Linked DNA regions of Homo sapiens: region 2 is linked to region 1. Evidence: promoter capture Hi-C in human tissues and cell types (Jung and others, 2019). All regions are on one chromosome and are shown on one strand. Each heading gives the region's core, a stretch centred on a gene start or on the middle of the fragment in contact. The rest is flanking DNA. Distances are from core to core; before and after follow the strand shown. Region 1 holds the start of MARK3 (microtubule affinity regulating kinase 3). Region 2 overlaps LBHD2 (LBH domain containing 2).

The links. Contacts are between HindIII fragments. The study calls those that stand out against the background at their distance.
Region 2: a contact is called between a fragment that was not itself captured here and the fragment with the promoter of MARK3 in region 1, in 1 of the 25 tissues and cell types used here (small bowel).

The regions. Positions count from the first base shown.
Region 1 is chr14:103,383,704-103,387,181 of GRCh38, forward strand. It overlaps MARK3 (microtubule affinity regulating kinase 3), which reads left to right and starts at 1,712. Exons shown (of 18, transcript NM_001128918.3): 1 at 1,712-2,377. The coding sequence starts at 2,327. RefSeq lists enhancers at 537-1,528, 1,529-2,518, 2,459-2,648 and a silencer at 1,989-2,178. The HindIII fragment of the contact is 8,681 bases long and covers 1-3,478 here.
Region 2 is chr14:103,087,563-103,091,040 of GRCh38, forward strand. It overlaps LBHD2 (LBH domain containing 2), which reads left to right. Exons shown (of 4, transcript NM_001330236.2): 3 at 523-679; 4 at 2,135-2,465. The coding sequence ends at 2,235. Among named protein-coding and RNA genes, the nearest start is that of LBHD2, 5.1 kb to the left of the region's middle. The HindIII fragment of the contact is 8,591 bases long and covers 1-3,478 here.

The DNA of each region.
Region 1 (3,478 bases), core at 462-2,961:
TCTGAGGGTTAGATGGGAGCCCTGAGTGTTACCTTAGTCCTCAGGTGTTTTAACATTGGGAGCCTCTGGCCTCTCTGGGAGTGAATCTGGCGTTTAAAGATACATATATTTGGCCGAGCGCAGTGGCTCACGCCTGTAATCCCAGCACTTTGGGAGGCCGAGACGGGCAGATCACAAGGTCAGGAGATCGAGACCATCCTGGCTAAGACGGTGAAACCGCATCTCTACTAAAAATACAAAAAAAATTAGCCAGGCATGGTGGTGGGCACCTGCAGTCCCAGCTACTCGGGAGGCTGAGGCAGGAGAATGGCGTGAACCCGGGAGGTGGAGCTTGCAGTGAGTGGAGATCGCGCCACTGCACTCCAGCCTGGGCGACAGAGCGAAACTCCGTCCCAAAACAACAACAACAACAACAACAACAACAAACATATATTTCGTGGAGCAAGAAATGTCTCAAACATAGCAAGAGAGTTGGGATGCCAACGGACCAAAGGGAAAGCAAGCATGACATAGCCCCCCACTACAAGGGCTTACCTATTATCCAAGCTTTGGGAGCTAGGTTAGAATCCCAGCTCTGTCGCTAACCAACCTGTGTACTTTAGCCAAGTCACTGTACCTGTCTAGACTTCGGATCGCATGTGTGTCTGCCCATCTCATAGGGTTACCCTGAGGCTAAATGAGGTAACAAATGTCATGAACCCACAAGGTAGACTCGACTCTCGGTAACAGTTCGTGTCACCCCCATCTCACACTACTCTCCCTCTTCGGACCCTGCACCCATGGATTCCATCCACCGCTGGCCAGGAGCTGAGTAGAGGCACCGAGCACGTGAAGAGGTGAATGGGCAAGGAAGGCTTCCAGGTCAGGTAGCATTTCCAGTGTTCCAGCCTGCAGGCATCTACCGAGCCTGGCCCGAGGCTGGCACCCAGAGATGCTTCCAGTCTTCCAGCAGCAACGCACTGACTGTAAGAAAAGCCTGCTTATAAACCCCCTACAGGCATTTGGAAGCTGGTCCCTGGGGTCCTCTACAGATTCATTTCGCCCCCAAACCCATCCCCTTTGTGCCACCCTCGTTATTGCACTCTTCCATCCGGATGGCATTTAGCTGGGTCCGGGTCTGTCACCCGTCTGACCACCAGCTCCTTGAGGGCAAGAGGCGCCTGCTGCCCTCAGGGTCCGCGCCCAGCCCGCAGCTGCTCAGATCCGGAGACGGGAAGGTTTGTTGGCGAGAACCTGACTCCCGGGTCACAGTTAAGGATGCAAGAGCCCGGCGCCTTCCCGTAGCCCCGGCCCTGTCATTAATTAATGCTGGGGCTCCATTCGGTGCAGCGCAGTCCCAGGGATGCAACCGCAACTTTTGCGCACAATAGGCTCTCGATCTGTAATCCAGCCAACCCAGGCCTGTAGTGTGTAAATGCCAACTCAGCGGGAGGGCTCTGGCTGTCGCCCAGAGCCGTTTCTCGGCTCTTTCGCGGTTGCCGGCGCGCTCGGGACAGGAGGAACCCGCAGCCCGCGGGAGTCAGCGGAGACCCGACCAGCACTATCCAGCCCTCTGCACCGCCCCCGCGGCGAGGTCTGGACCAAGTCGCCCCTAGCAACAACAGCCGGGCCGGCTTTCTCAGGCCATGCTGATTGGCGGGACTCCGGGTGGCGGCCTGTCGTCACTTCCGGCAGCCGGAGGCAGCAGAGGAAGCCGAGGGGCGGCCATCTTGGCTCCGTGAGGCTCTGAGGTGCCGGGGTGCGGCGGCGGCAGCGGCGGCCAGCAGGGCGGAGGCTGAGGCAGCAAGCTCGCTAGAGAGGGAGAAGCAGTCGGGCGCAGGCGCCTCCTCCGCAGCCCGCTCCATGGTCGGCGCCCACAGCCCGCGGCGGCCTGTCTTGCGCTCCACTTCCTTCACATCCTCCTCCGCCTCCTCGTTTTCAGGCGCCGCCGGCGGCGCTGTGTGGAGGCCCGCGAGCTGAAATTCGCGGTGCGACGGGAGGGAGTGGAGAAGGAGGTGAGGGGGCCCAGGATCGCGGGGCGCCCTGAGGCAAGGGGACGCCGGCGGGCCGAAGCGCAGCCCGCCGCCCGCAGGCTCGGCTCCGCCACTGCCGCCCTCCCGGTCTCCTCGCCTCGGCCGCCGAGGCAGGGAGAGAATGAGCCCCGGGACCCGCCGGGGGACGGCCCGGGCCAGGCCCGGGATCTAGACGGCCGTAGGGGGAAGGGAGCCGCCCTCCCCACGGCGCCTTTTCGGAACTGCCGTGGACTCGAGGACGCTGGTCGCCGGCCTCCTAGGGCTGTGCTGTTTTGTTTTGACCCTCGCATTGTGCAGAATTAAAGTGCAGTAAAATGTCCACTAGGACCCCATTGCCAACGGTGAATGAACGAGACACTGAAAACGTAAGTAACCTGGGCGTTGTAGTTGGCGGACCTTCGGGGTGGCATTCGTGCTCCTCGGGCAGTGCCTTGCAGTCGGGTGTTCCCCCCAGCCGAACGCTCTGGAAATAGAGGGCAGGCCGTAGTCACCCAGGAGGCAGCCAGGTCGGACCGTTTCCTCCAGAAGTCTGCCGTGTCCCGCTGTTCGCGGGCGGGTCTGCGAAGTACATCGATTATGCCGGCAGTCTAGTCGGTTAATAAAGCCCAGGAGTTGCAGCGTTACGGATCGGTGCTTTGAGAGGCCAGGTTGCCGCGCAATGGATTGTGCAAACGTGTGTGTCAGATCACTGCAGTGGTCAGTGCTTATTTTAGCCGAACTCTGCTTTTAACTTGGTCAGGCAGTTCTTGAGAGACTGTCACATTAATAACATATGTTACCGGTGCTGATTAAGAGTAATCGATTGGGTCAAGTGGGCGGTCTCGTTCTTTAAGATGGTCTGGAACTAAATTTAATCACAGTCACTAAGTGTCCACTGAGGGATCTTTGCGGTCCCCTTAGGAATTCCAAAACACTAGCGCGCAGCCTTTATTAAGGCAGTTTCCTTTCCATACAAATCTTTTTTGAAGGAGTTGGTTAAACATTTTGAAAAGCAGATGTATAGTGAAGCTCTGCTCTGCCACTCACTGCCTAGCTGAGGGACACCCGCTGGGGGCTTCGCTGTCCTCCTTCCTAAAAAGAGATTGGCTTAGATGAGCTCTTAGGTCCCTTTCAGCGCTCACAGGCTATGGTTTTATAAAAGGAACCTTTGATTTTGTTCATGTGAAACTACAAAATGCCAGGAACAGCATTGCTAGAGAATGAGAACTTGTAGTAGAAATTCCATTGAAGAAACGTTTGACTCTGTTCGTTTTCTAACTCTGTTCTCCTCTAACACTGGGTTCAAAAGTGTTTCAATCTAGTTGTTGACTATATTCTGTAAAACATCTAGTAAATAATTTGTAAAGAAACTTCACTGGCCTTTCATTAAAAGTGTTATGAGGTAATTGCTGGCACGAAATGTCTTCTCTTAGGGAATGCTTCCTTGCTTTGAGTGTTTTCATGCTTTCAGTAATGTCCTGAGATGT
Region 2 (3,478 bases), core at 296-2,795, 300 kb before region 1:
GCCCCCGCAGGCTCCTGTGGGCACTGAACAATGAGCCAAGAGCAAGCCCAGAGCCAGCCGTTTGGGTTGCCATGGCAACTGCTTCCCAGCTCCTCTGAGCCTGGAGGAGGCCAAGGGCCCAGCAGGGAAGACCCCAGGAAGGGACTGGCAGGAGTCTGGGTGCAGGAGGCAGCTGGGGGTGCGCAGAAGCCTGGGCTCATTCCTGGTGACCTTGGCCTCTCCGGCCTCAGGCTCTGGCTGTGCAATGGGCTTCTGGAGCTGAGCACAGCTGCGTCCTATGGTGCCTCCTGAGAGCTGTGACCCCAGGGGCTGAGCACCCTACCCCCAGGGTTGGGACTGGGTAGGGCCTGGGACCTGTCTCAGGGATGTTCCTGTGTGAATACACATGTGCCCATCCCTGCCCTGGGGACTGGGTGGGAAGGGTCTCTGATCTCCCTAGTGGGGCAGTGTGCAGGACAGGGGTAGGGGGGAATAGGAGTGCCAGGCCTGGCATGGCCATGATCCTGCCCATCCTCCTTGCAGGCTGTGGCAGGTGCCTGGGAGAAGGGCCCTCGGCTGGGCCAGCGGCTGCCCTCAATCGTGGTGGAGCCCAGCGAGGCGGACCCTGTGGAAAGTGGGGAGCTGCGCTGGCCCCTGGAGAGTGCCCAGAGGGGCCCCTCTCAGAGCCGGGCTGCTGCTGGTAAGTGAGGGTGCCTGTGGGGGTGCTGAGAGGAGGAAGTGGCCACTGCCAGGGTCAGAAGCGGGGCGTGCTTCCTGCGGCTCCAGCAAGCAAGGCCTTCCCGCCTCCTGCCTGTTCACACTCCATCCTCCGCCCGCCTTGGAGTCTCTGCCTGAGACTCTAGGTGCTGCCTGGCCTTAACCCCCCTCCCTAGCACCGTCCTCCCTCCCACCTGCAAATGAGGTCCCTCATCCACTCTCAGCCGCAGGCCTGGGCACGGGAGGTGCACGGTGCATAATTGTTGAATGAGTGATGCCACATTCTCGCCCCTCCTTATCCAGTGCACCCTCGTCATCACCTCTGGAGCAAGTGTGCCTTGCTCACTAGGGCCTGGGAGGCTGTGAGCCTACAGGTGCTTGTGGTGGGGGGATGGGCTGGCCTGTTGGCAGGCTCCATCCCGCTGCAGGTGCCCTGTTTAAAGGCTGAAAGCAGGCCAGGCGCGGTGGCTCATGCCTATAATCCCAGCACTTTGGGAGGCTGAGGCAGGTGGATCAGTTGAGGTCAGGAGTTCGAGACTAGCCTGGCCAACATGGTGAAACCCCATCTCTACTAAAAATACAAAAATTAGCCAGGCATGGTGGCGGGCGCCTGTAATCCCAGCTACTCTGAAGGCTGAGGCAGGAGAATCGCTTGAACCCTGGAGGCAGAGGTTGCAGTGAGCTGAGATCGTGCCACTGCACTCCAGCCTGGGCGATAGAGTGAGACTCCATCTCAAAATAAAAGCTGAAACTTCTGGGAGGATTGTGTGAGCAGGAGGGGGCAGCCGGCGCCAGGCCCAAGGAACAGGAGAGGCAGCAGGCTGGGCTGTGGGGGCCTTGTGAATGGCTCTGAGGGCCACTGGGGGCTGGGCAAGGGGCATGAGGTGTGCCCTGTGCCCTGGGAGATGTTGTCCCCTGGAGACCCCTGGGAGTCTATTCCCTGAGGAGGAAGTGAATTCAGCCGCAGCTGGGGCCGCTCAGCACCTTGCCTGCCCTCTTCCCATCCCCAGACCTCAGCCTGTACTGGCCAGAAAACCCCCTTTTCATTGTGGCCAGAGGGGTTATCTGTCTGGACCCATAACCCCCACCTCTGCCCAAAGCCTCTTGTCAGTTTCTGCCCAGGGCCCAGGACAGCATCAGGGACCACCACTCGGGTAACCCCTGGGACTTGGGCTCTGGGGATATCCTTGAGTCTGCCCTGGACTTCCCTTCCCTCTGCCACCCCATCATCTGGTGGATGTGGGAGCTGCCCCTGCTCGCAGAGCCCAGCCTCATTCTGCCTCCCTGGCCGAGCACCCCTCCCGCTTCTCATCACCCGAGGGGACCTCCTGGCCTGCCCCAGCCCAGTTGCCTGCCAAACGCTCATTTCGGGCCCCTGGGATCCTCTCAGGCTGCACTCCCCCCGCCGACCAACACGGCCGCCTTTATGTTTCTGCAGCCCCCTCGCCGAGTCTGCCCGGAGAACCAGGGAAAGCTGCAGATAACGCTGGCAGCGAGTGTGCCTGCTCCGAGGACCCAGCAGCCCCGGCCCGGGGATAGGACAAGGACGTGGCTGGGCTCTGCTGTCTGACTGCTGAGGGCCTCTGCCCCAGGGTGGCCGGGCTGATGCACAGGAGGGCCGGGCCTGCCCAGCCTGGAAAGCCCAGAGGCTGCTTCCTGTGTCACAGGGTCTGGACCGCAGCCCTGCCCTCTTCTGCCCATGGCCCAGGTCTGGATCACACCCCGCTTTGTTCCGTGGTTTGAAGCAGAAATAAAGGCACTTCCTGGTGGCCAGTAGGCACACTTGATGGGGATGCAAGGGACTGAGGACAGTTTGGGCTCTGCCTGTGGCCTTCCAGGTGAGGGCCTCAGCTCCCAGCCCAGGCTGGCCAGTCCAGAGCGCCTCTTGGGTGACCACTTGGGCCTGGCACTGGGGCAGGCTGGGCAGGGCTGAGCTGGCTCTGTGGCTGGTGCCTCTGCCCAGGGACCCTCTCTCTGCTTTGGCCAAGGCTGTCCAGGGCAGAACCAGCCTCCTCCAGGTGGCCTCCCAACCCTCCGTGGGGCCTTCTTGGGGCCAGGGCCGGACCCTGAGGGCCTGCTACCCACTTGCCCCGGGTGTAGGAAAGCACAGCGATGGTGCCTGGGGTGGGCCGCCCCATTCCAGGTTGGATCTCGTTAAATCTTCGTGAAGGTCCCATTTTACACGTGTAGGAACTGAGGTGCAAAGCGAGGTGCTCAAGGCAAGCGGCTACGGAGGGAATTCCTGAGGTCAGGAAGCCACTGGGCTGCCACAGAACCTGCATCAGAGGCTGGTGGAGCAGGCATCTCTTCCTGCCCCATGTGGGGGTCCTGTCCCTCCACTGGGTCCATCGACATTGTCTCTGGACTCTGTTCTACTACAGGAGGGGAGCCCTGCTGCCTGGTTGCAGCTGGCATGGGGGCAGAGCCCCGAGTGTAACCCAGGGCCCCCTCCCCAGGTGTGTCCCCCCAACCTGGCCCTCTGCCCTTGGCCAGCCTGGGCCAGGATGAGGAAGCTTAGGGCCGGGCAGTGGTACACTCCATAAATGTCAGCTGTGCCAAGTCCATGGCCTTTCTGTGGCCCGGGCAGGTGTGCCAGGGGCCCATGAGAGGAGGGAGGCAGGAGACACTGCCCCTTTGTGCTTTCCCGCTGCCTCGCCAGCCTCCAGGACGAAGATGCACTTTTCAGATGCACTTTCTCCCACCGCCTTCCTTCTAAAAATAGCCAACCCCCCAATGCGGGAAAGGTGGGAGGTGAGGTGCGGAAGCTGGCCTGGCAGCCCGC